Regions from separate parts of the Homo sapiens genome. Here all the other regions are linked to region 3. Evidence: promoter capture Hi-C in human tissues and cell types (Jung and others, 2019). All regions are on one chromosome and are shown on one strand. The core of a region is centred on a gene start or on the middle of the fragment in contact, and the rest is flanking DNA. Distances in the headings are between cores, read along the strand shown. Region 1 has its middle 150 kb from the start of MIR4305. Region 2 overlaps LOC124903162. Region 3 holds the start of SLC25A15 (solute carrier family 25 member 15).

Region 1 (3,461 bases), core at 298-2,797, 980 kb after region 3:
ACATTCCTACTGTGAATATTTGCATTTTTGAACATTATCTGAATGGCATCACGAATTCACACCATCTGAAATCACAGAGCCTTGCAGGTAGCAATCAGAATAATTTTACACAGATAGAAATTTTATGCTGAGCAGAAAACCATGGCAGTCACAGTCTGAAACACAAAAGAAAGCAGCCATAGAAGTGCAGTAAAAAGTAAACATTTGCCTAAAACAGTAAAAATAAAAAAGCTTCGGTTTAGAATCATATCATTCTATTGGAGTCATTTGTATTTTTTGCATGCAAATGTATGTTTTAAAATAAATGCATGAATATATGTATACACAGGTATAAATATACATCTACACACATGCATATGTATTTCTCCAGAAAATTTTTATTAGTCGATATTTATATTCTTATCATCAACAATAACTTTAAAATATATGTGTAATAGTGGGCATTATAGAAATGAGTGCCAAATGCCTAGTCTGAGGGGGTGTCAGAACGGAACAATCAACTCCAGATATGTGCTCACGTCAATCTGAAAAGGAACAAGCCCCTTTTCAGTGTATATTATATTTTCACACTAAAGCCTTGTTCTTTAAGGAATACATTTTTTTCTGTCATCCCAAAACCAAAAAAAGATAATATAAGTAATTGATTCTTAAATTACTGCTAAGTCTTCCATAATCAACATCAATACAAAATGAGGGAACTCTGCCCAAAAGAAAGAGAAAATATGTAAGGTGAAAAGAAAAGAAATAGCTGTTAAGGGAGTAATGTCCAATGGGACCTGATATTAAAGAGAAGGCCACAATGTCATAGAGGATAGTTTTTAATATAGAGTTTAAAATATCTGCATTCTACTTCAGCCCCATTTTTTTGAAGGGGGAAGAGTGCAGTTACTTCTTTAAGCCACAATTTCATCACCTGTAAAACAGGATAAGCAAATATATGCAAAAGTACAATGAAAACGTCAAAGAGCCGCACACATATAATTTAAGATTTAATAGTACAGTTGCTAAAAGGAAATTCTTCCAGCAGTGACAACCTCATGTTTAAAGGACGACAGAACATACCTGTGATGAAGAGTGGCCACTTGACTCCATTACTAAAACTATGGTCAGGTCCCCAAGACTTTGTGGCATGGAATCGTTTACCCTCCTCTTCCCTCATGATTCCGAATCAATCAATCATCAGCTAAGAAAAAAGAAAGCCACCCAAGCCAATGAGTTCTACCATCTGAGCAGCTGCTCCAGCTTGTATAAAGTACCATGCACACTGCCATGAACTGTGGAATGGGAACTATTGACATTATCTCATCTATGGACAAATAAAATGATGAGGATGGCAATTCACAATATTTCTAATACACTAACAATAGCTAATACTTATTGGCTGTTTGCCAAGTCAATAAATGTTATTTATCAAGAATGAGGCACTGGGTACGGTGGCTCACGCCTATAATCCAGCATTTTGGGAGGCCGAGGAGGGTGGATCACTTGAGGTCAGGAGTTTGAGACCAGCCTGACCAACATGGTGAAACCCCATCTCTACTAAAAACATGAAAATTAGCTGGGCATGGTGGCGGGCACCTGTAATCCCAGCTACTTGGAATGCTGAGGTGGGAGAATCACTTGAACCTGGGAGGCAGAGGTTGCAGTGAGCTGAGATCACTCCATTGCACTCCAGCCTGGGCAACAAGAGCAAAACTCCATCTCAAAAAAAAAAAAAAATTAAAAGAGGCTAAGTTCCTCACATTGATTTTCGAATTTATAAGAAAACATCCATTCCTTCCATCTTACATATGAAAAACTGACATGACAAAATTAAGTAACTTGCTAAAGGTCATACAGTGCATAAGCTCTAGATTATGCAGTGGCATGTTAATGTTAGATCTAGATTCAGGGTAAGAAAGCCAAGAGACAGAAGAACAAAAAAGGAGAGACTTTTGCAGTGACTACTACATTTAAGGTGTTAAAGACTTGTCAGTAAGAGATAGAAAGTATTGAGCATCGGTTTTTCTAACACTGTTGTTAGTTCTTTTTAACCCCCATGTTTTCTTAGATGAGCCAGATTGCAAAGTCTCTGACATTGGGGAACATGTCTGATACTTTGAATCTACTATGGGACCGGGCACACAAATAAATGTACCTGTCTGAATTAAGCAAGCTTTTTGCAAAGTTAAAATGGGATCTGGTGGTGAATGGGGTGTATTTACAGCTTGAGTCCCACTTACTTTGTGCAGTGGAGGAGTTTTACCCAAGAACAATCAGCGTGTTTTGGCAGCCCCAGGAGAGGCAGGCATGTCTCTTGAGAAAACAAAATTTAATTTTCTTTTTTTCAAGTGGTTCTACACAGATATTAGAGCCTGGGTGAAAAGTTAGCACAAACAACAACAACAAAGAAACCCTAAGAAAGGAGATGCATCACCCAGGATGCTGCAGGCCTTGATGAGCAGGTTTAAAGCAATGGTGACAATTGGAGCTAAAAATTGTCACAAGAATCTGTTGGAAAAGCCCAGGGTTCAAGAGTCACATGATATAAGCTGAGCCTCCCCACAAAGCAGCAGAGGAGAGACCCCTACGACAAACAGAGGTTCCACAAGATGCCCAGATGTGGGGCTGGAACAGGCAGTTGTGCAGCGTGGCTGCTCAGCAAAGTCCTAGGAGGCACAGAAAGCAAACAGCAAGGGGATGGGAAATGTGCAATTGTTGTATGATATTTTTGGTGACTTGAGCTAGTGTTTGCCAATGGGAAAGCATCAGGAAATCCAAAAGGATAAGTTTCACACGTGTCTGAATGGCTCAAACTCAAATACTCACTCAGATTGGAATCAGATCCCCAGGAGGTCACCTGGACCCTTTCTGCCACAAACACAGACTCATACAAGTAACAGGAATAATTTCTTATTTCTCCCAGTTAAATGATGGTGGAGATAAATTAGGTCAACATTTCTTTCTTACAGCTATAAACCATGTTTTTCAGAGATTCACAGTGGTGTCATATTAATATTAATATCATCTTGATTTTGCTGCTTTATGTTAACCCCTGTGTGGTTGTAGGAACCTCCCCATCTCCTTTAATTATAAATGGGAATCCCTGGGGTTCTCTCATTCTCACTGACATTCCTTTTGGCTCCCCTGTGTGACTCCCCGCAGTTATATTTCCTCTCCCATCTGAGCCTCCATTAGGACCATCTATGTCCAGGCGTCAGTTCCCTAAAACCGCATGAAGCTCTCCACCTCCACCTCTGGTACCCACTGGTGTGCAGTTTCCCACTGTGCCTCTAGGGCCACTGCTGTCACCAGTACCACTCATCACTGCCTCGGCCAGGCCCTGCAGGAGCCCTCCAATGCCACTCCACCTGCTGCGTACTGAACCTTTGTGCCCCCCCAAATTCATATATTGAAACCTTAATTCCCAATGTGATATTTTTATATGCAAATGTATATATTTGGAGGTGGGACCTTTGGGA
Region 2 (3,651 bases), core at 178-2,677, 640 kb after region 3:
TGTCAGCTTCAAGCAGGATGTCAACTAAGCCTGCAGCACCCTGAGGGCAAACGGTTCAATAAAACACACACTTGATGAGAATGTTCAGCTTACAGATGTCACTAAGCTTCAGCCATGGTTGCTAAGAGTAAATAAATCACTGCTTGCAACTTTGGATCCCACAAACCTGATGCTCTCTTTTCTCACCCACGGGGGAGAAGAGATACAGGATAAACCCTGCTTCTTGGCAGTCAGTCTCAGCAATATCGTTTTGTGTTTTGAAACTGCTAGCAAATCATGACTGAGCCAGTCCACTGCTTTGAGCAGGTAGTGGTGGACTATTCATTTTGTGTTACCGACGAGAATCCCAAGAAGAGCAAAAATCCCGAGATGCAGGGAAGTAGGCAACATCAGAGTCCCAAGCTCGTCCTGCATTTATTCCTTCTGACTCAAGATGGCAGGAGTAGGGTGTGACAGTTGCTTGATCCTGGGAGGGGCATGATTGCATTTTCTCCTGACTTCAGTGGTCATTGTTCTTTAATGTTGTATCCTTGGGCAGCATGTGATCTGTCAGAGTCTGGGGGACCTGTTCTTTCCTGGTGAAGAAACATTGCTCAGAAATAGCAATGGTGTTTGCAAACAGCAGACACAGGTAGCAAGCAAAGGATGCTCTGCTATGTGTGTGTCTAGGTAATCCTCCCACATACATTTTATCTTAAAAATATGTATTAAATTATAAGACTCTTAGAAAATACTTGTCCCTATACTTGGGAAATTAAGAAATAATACAGGCATCACCTCACCCTCCTCACTTCCCAGTCATTATCATGTTTGCATGTGAATTTCTACTTAGGAAATTTCTTTACATCTGTGGTGTAAGTCCACAAACATTTGCTGAGCCCCTAACACGCACTAGCTACAGAGCTGGCTGGAGAAGGTTTGGGAAGTTTTGGGAGTGTCAATTTAACCAAATGGTAAGTAACTTAAATATGGTTTTTAAAAAGTAAAACAAATGGGGTTATACTATGCAGTAGAATTTTTAAAAGTGGATGAATCAAATTTTAATATAAACTGAGACTTCAAAAAGGGGCTACACAGCTTCTGTATGAAGAATGGACTAAATGGAGTAGAGGGAAGAATGTCTGCAGAGGCCCTTGCAGTTGGTTGAGGTAGACCCCATGGCAGATGAAAACCAAATGAGGTCAGTGAGTGAGAAGGAAGGAAACAGAGTGGAAGATAGAAGTTCTCATAAAGTGGAGCTGAGAGGACTTGTGATTGGTGCAGATGGTGCGAGAGGCAGAGGGAGGTGTTAATGTTATTGACTGCTTTCCTTGACTAATTTCCAGAAATTAGATGTGTCGACTCTGAAGCCACATCGCAGCACTTTGTCTTGTGCCATTGCCACATGATAATGCAAACAGCAGTAATCCTATGAGCTCACGTTGGTGCGTTCACACCACATGCTAGGCATCATGTGACCTCTTCCCACGCGTTCTCTTGTTTAATGTTTACATCCACCTATGAGGTAGGCTCTATTCTCATACTTCTTTCACAGATGGAAAAAACTTGAGGCTCAGAGAGGTTAGGCAACTTGCCCAGGATTAAACAGTTATTCATATGCCAGCACCCAGGTGACTAGAACACCAAGAAGGCATCTTCCAGGATGAAGGACCATACATAAATACAAACAGCAACTCCTCAGTTTTATTAGAATCCATTGACTATGAACCTTTCTTCATAATCTGCTTTGTTTTGGATGTTAGTAACATACCCCCACTTTACGTACCTTCTATAACATTTTAACAATTTTGTAAGAAGCCCTCTTAAGAGGTGTAAACCCCTGACCTCTTATATAGAGAATTTTGCACATAATTCAGCCTTTGGTTGAAACTTTATTTTGCTATCAGGAACACCCATAATGTAATTGGGAGAGACCTGGGGTGCTGAGGTGAGCAGGGTTCTTCGCTCCCAGGAGGCCAGCTCTTCCCTGTTTCTCTAGAGCCCACCTCACTCCACTGCGACCTCCATTCCCACAGCCTTCATTCCCACCTCATCACCCGCTCTGATGCTGCTTCCTTGTCTGCCGTCTGCTGAAGCTTCCCTCCGTCCTCCTGCTTTTATCTTCCTGTCTCCCCTTCCCAGCATTTCTCAGCTTTCACAGGGAACACGCTGTCTTGTACTGATGCTAGATCTATGATATGCTGACTGCCAGACACTGGGAGAGCTCTACTTCCACAGCCCTGCTGAATCCTCACCACAGACCTAGGGGTGTCTCATTCTGGTTCCAGCAGAGAGCAGCAGGCGCAGGAGGCAGCCATTTACCTCCGCAGGCATGCCCACTGCTCTTGAGTGTGGAGCTGGGATTCAAACCCACGTCTCCTTAATTTCAATCCTGCTTCCTTAGGTGCAGGGAGTGCTACCTGTAATAAGGAGGCCCAGGGAAGGAGATTGCTCTTGGCCTTCCATGTAACAAACCCAGACATAAGCTTTAGTCTGTGCTGCTTCTGTTGTTTTTATTATGGCAGTGACAAGCTCAAGGGCAATTCTTAGGGAGGCTGTTGAGTCCTGCCTGGGAGATGGTAAGGAGCACGGGCTCCAGAGGCAGATTGCTAAGGCCCAGCTTTTCACTTCCACACGCTTGCTGCGCGATGTGGGGATAATACTGGTACCTAGCTCATCATGCTGTAAGGAGTATATGCAAGTATATAAGGAGTATTTAAATCAGTCTTACAAGTAATGATGATAGTAGTAGTAGTGATGATGATGATGATGATGATGCGATGATGGCAGCTTGCTCCATGTCAAGTACTGCTCAAGTGCCTTATGCAGAGTAACACACTTACCCCTCACATCAACCCTCTGAGGTAGGTGCTGTGATTTTCCCCTCTCAGGGGTTGAGAGAACTAAGGCACAAAGCGACGAGGCAGCTTGCCTGAGTGCACACATCAGGGAAGTGGTGGAGATGAGGTGCAGACCCAGGCGGCCCTGCTTTAGTGTGTGGGACATCCTGCTCTACCATGTGCCAGGCAGAGCTACTTTGTCTGCCCCGCTCCCTCACCCTCACTTTTATGTCTGGGTGGGGTCTTTATGGCTTCACTCTCATGCCTCTCATTCACTTTCTCCCCTTCTCTCCTCTCTCCTCCTCTTCCGTTCTCCCTCCTTTTTCTCACTCTCTCTTCTTTCCAGTCCCCAGTTGTCCTCTGTCTCTAGAACCTGCGGTTGCTGCAAGGTTGCCTCCAGGTAATGGAGCTGTTGCTGCTAGGTGTGTCTTGCCCCCGCTGCATGGCCGCTACCCCCATAGCCACGCCTGCTCCTGAGCTCATCTGCTGCAGAGCATTAGTTGCTACCTTGCCACCCATTAAGCCCATGTATCATAATTGTACATTTTTTTGGTTGAAAGCCAAATGATGAAGCTAATAAGGTTCATGCTGGGAACAGATGTTCTTACTTCTGCCCAGATGCTGTACATGACAAGGACTTGCTGGCGCTTGGTGTCAGCGAGACTCTTGTACTCTCATTTGAAGTGTTTCTGGCTGAAGGGTTCTTAGGAAGGGCTGAAAAGTCATGCTGTCCTTATATGCAGGAGCTGGGCACAGGTCTTGAGGGGTAGGAGGTAGTCATCCTCGGTACTTTATAATCCATCTGCTTCATGAGGACATCATCCCATGCCTA
Region 3 (3,803 bases), core at 1,103-3,602:
ATGAACACCAAGCACGCTCCTAACACCAATGTCACCCTGAACGTCAACAGGAAACATTGGCCGTGGAGAAGTTGTTTAAACCTCTTGAAGCATCTTGCCAACGACGAGACTTCAATAATCCTCCTTTATTCACAAAAAATTTAAAACCAGTGGCAACAACGGCACATTACTTAATAAAGCAACTAAGTTAGAAGTGCAAGACACTGATTTATATGCTGTTGATAGGTCTGGAGAGACAGGACCATTCACTAGGCTGAAAAGGTGGTGGCCATCTGGTATCTTCCTAAAAAAGTTTATCAGGGTCCTGGCCAGGCGCGGTGGCTCACGCCTGTAATCCCAGCACTTTGGGCCGGCTGAGGTGGGAGGATCACGAGGTCAGGAGTTTGAGACCAGCTTGACGAATATGGTGTAACCCTGTCTCTACTTAAAATACAAAAATGACCCCAGCGTGGTGATGCACACCTGTAGTCCCAGCTACTCAGGAGGCTGAGGCAGAAGATTCACTTGAACCCGGGAGGTGGAGGTTGCAGTGAGCCGAGATTGTGCCACTGGACTCCAGCCTGGGCAACAAAGTGAGACTCTGTCTCAAAAAAAAAAATAATAATAATAATAGAAAATAAAAAATAAAATAAATAAATAAATAAATAAATAAATAAATAAAAAGTTTATCAGGGTCCTAATCCTTTCCCAGAAGGCAAACTAAAGCCTGGAGCAAGACAAGGTCTTCTCCAAGGCCACACAACTGTCAGTGACAGAGGATTCAGTTCAAAGTCCTGTCTTTTCAGGCCTGTGCCTACAAACCAACCGTTAATCTGAGTATTTCAACCTGGCCAAAGGCAACACAAAACACCCAACCCTATATTTTTGGGAAAGAAAAAAACGGGGGCAACTGAGCAGACAGACAGAGGCAAGTACAATGTGGCCTCCTAGATAAACCTCAATGCGCTTATTTCTTTTGGCACAGACACTTCCTTCTTAATTTTGAAGGAAAGTCACATCACATTACATTCTATCTGTCCCTAAGAATTAAACCCTGTTAGGTGAGCCAAACTTAAACACATTAAATTCTACAAATAGGCCAGGCACAGTGGCTCACGCCTGTAATCCCAGCACTTTGGGAGGCCAAGGCGGGCGGATCACCTGAGGTCGGGAGTTCGAGACCAGCCTGACCAACATGAGAAACCCCCGTCTCTATTAAAAATACAAAATTAGCCTGGCGTGGTGGGCCATGCTTGTAATCCCAGCTACTCGGGAGGCTGAGGGAGGAGAATAGCTTGAACCCAGGAGGCGGAGGTTGCGGTGAGCCGAGATCGCCCCATTGCACTCCAGCCTGGGCAACAAGAGCGAAACTCCGTCTCAAAAAAATAAACAAACAAATAAATTCTACAAATAGCCATTAGAATTATTAGGATAGAAAACGATGATGGGTACTAACAGATTCACTCAGAAGGAGTGGGCAGCTAATTCACATTATGTGTAGCTCTGGCTTGGAGAAGACACAGGGCTTGGAGGAGGCAAGACTGTTCAGCATGAATTAAAATTGATTTATGAGCTTGCTGTAGCACTTGGAATAGAAAAAAGAATCTTTTCAGCGCCTTTGACCCCTCTCTCAAATTACACCAGGGTGCAACTGAGGAACAACAGTGCCGACCACCCACTTTTCTCGACCCTTGGGGAAAATAACTTTTTTTTGGAAGGGAGAGTCAGTAGATGAGGCTGCATTTTCCACCAGGGAACACGAACTGCTGCGGGAAGATCCCAGCTTCTGGCTAAAGGAGCCGCAGGCCAGCTCGCCATCCAGTCCCCAGAGCCCGGGCTTTAGGTAAAGCGTGGAGATGCAAATCAGTTTCGCCGCCAAGGACCGGCCAGGCGCGTCTCCTCCCGGGCCTCGCAAGGAACAGGTCAGGGAGACGACTTCCAACTTTCTTGGCCGGACCCTAAACGTTCACCGCCCCTGCCCAGCCGCCCACTCCTGGGCAGCCAGCAAGTCTCCATTCACAAGCGGCTCCATGCTGCCCAGCACTGGCGCCCCTGAGGCGCGGAGCCCCGCAGCCAAATGACAGGACTTGGGGGCAAACAAGGACAAAAGTTCCCACCAGGTGGGCACTGCAGGAAGGAGGCCGACAACCCCGAGATTCTCCGAGTCCCGCGGCACGTGCGCTGCGACGCTGGCCGCTTCCCCCGCCGCTCGGGAAGGTCACGCCGCCCGCACACCGAGGCCCGCCCCGCGCCCCGCTCCCCGCTCCCTCTGCCTGGCGCGCTCCCCGCAGCTGCAGGCGCCAGACCGGGCTGCGCTCACCGCCGCGCCGGCGTGGCCGCGTCCAGCTCAGGCTCCGCCGCCCGCTCTCGGCTCCGGGTCGCCGGCTGGGGCGGCCACTTAACACCCACGTCGGCAACGGCCGGCCCTTCGCCCCTCCCTTCGCGCAGGCATCCCGGACTGCGGCCCCGCGAAGCTCAGGAGCGCCCCTGCGGCTGGCGGGCGGCCTGCCCAGGGCCGTGCCCGAGCCGAGACCGGGAGCCGCCACCGCCCACCGGCCCTGCCACCGCCCCCAGCACGGGAAGCGGAAGTGGGCGTGGGGCCGCGGCGCGCACAGCCAGCCCGCGACCCGGCGTGGTGCTGCCGCCGACCCTGGTGAAGGTGGAGAGCGGGGCCTGCGCCTCCGGAGACTTTCCCACCTCTGGGATCCCCGAGACCCTCTCTGAGGCCGGACCCTTGTTAGCCCGCTGGGCTGGGACTGGGGGCTGGGGGCTGGTAATGTCAGTGGTTGGGAGGACTTACTTTTTAGCTACTTTGACCTTGTTGGGAGGCTAAGGCCTTATTTATAAATTATATTTGAGTACAAAATTATACTCGGGATCCAAGGCCCTAATAGGAAATACAACTAAGTATGAAAATACAGGAATTAGCCGGGCATGGTGGCTCACGCCTGTAATCCCAGCACTGTGGGAGGCCGAGGTAGGCGGATCACCTGAGGTCAGGAGTCCAAGACCAGCCTGGCCAACATGGTGAAACCCCGTGTACTAAAATTACAAAAATTTATCCAGCGTGGTGGTGCGTGTCTGTAACCCCAGCTACTAGGGAGGCTGAGGCAGGAGAATCGCTTGAATCTGGGAGGTGAAGGTTGCAGTGAGCCAAGATTGCATCACTACACTCCAGCCTGGGCTACACAGCGAGACTCCGTTTCATAAAAACAAACAAACAACGACAAAAAAAAAAAGGTGTGGTGACACATGCCTCTATTCTTAGCTATTTGGGAGGCCAAGGCGGGAGGATCGCTTGAGGCCAGGAATTGGAGGCCGCAGTGAGCTATGATGGCACTGTTGCACTCCAGCCTGGATGACAGAGACCTCATCTCTCTCTCTCTCTCTCTCTCACCCACACACACACACACACACACACACACACACCCTCCACACAGTGTAATTTTATTTTACAACTTTAAGCCTTGTTTAGATGTGCTGTTGGATTATTATTTTTTTCTTTTTTTTTCTTTTTTTTTTTGAGACAGAGTCTCACTCTGTCACCCGAGCTGGAGTGCAATGGTGCAATCTCAGCTCACTGCAACCTCCCCCTCCTGGGTTCAAGCGATTCTCCTGCCTTAGCTTCCCAAGTAGCTGGGATTACAGGCATGCGCCACCACACCCAGCTAATTTTGTATTTTTTAGTAGAGACAGGGTTTCACCACCTTGGCCGGGCTGGTCTCGAACTCCTGACCTCAGGTGATCTGCCTGCCTCGGCCTCTCAAAGTGCTGGGATTACACGTGTGAGCCACCACGTCTGGATGTGCTATTGGATAATTACC

Evidence for each region. Contacts are between HindIII fragments. The study calls those that stand out against the background at their distance.
Region 1: a fragment that was not itself captured here is called in contact with the fragment with the promoter of SLC25A15 in region 3 in 2 of the 25 tissues and cell types used here (H1 embryonic stem cells and dorsolateral prefrontal cortex).
Region 2: a fragment that was not itself captured here is called in contact with the fragment with the promoter of SLC25A15 in region 3 in 2 of the 25 tissues and cell types used here (mesendoderm cells and thymus).

The regions. Positions count from the first base shown.
Region 1 is chr13:39,811,659-39,815,119 of GRCh38, reverse strand. No RefSeq gene overlaps it. Among named protein-coding and RNA genes, the nearest start is that of MIR4305, 150 kb to the right of the region's middle. The HindIII fragment of the contact is 3,252 bases long and covers 1-3,173 here.
Region 2 is chr13:40,143,054-40,146,704 of GRCh38, reverse strand. The region is part of intron 1 of LOC124903162; the gene reads left to right. Among named protein-coding and RNA genes, the nearest start is that of LINC00332, 37 kb to the left of the region's middle. The HindIII fragment of the contact is 4,577 bases long and covers 1-3,651 here.
Region 3 is chr13:40,788,160-40,791,962 of GRCh38, reverse strand. SLC25A15 (solute carrier family 25 member 15) reads right to left here and starts at 2,352. Exons shown (of 7, transcript NM_014252.4): 1 at 2,300-2,352. RefSeq lists silencers at 776-1,070, 2,203-2,782. The HindIII fragment of the contact is 20,114 bases long and covers 1-3,803 here.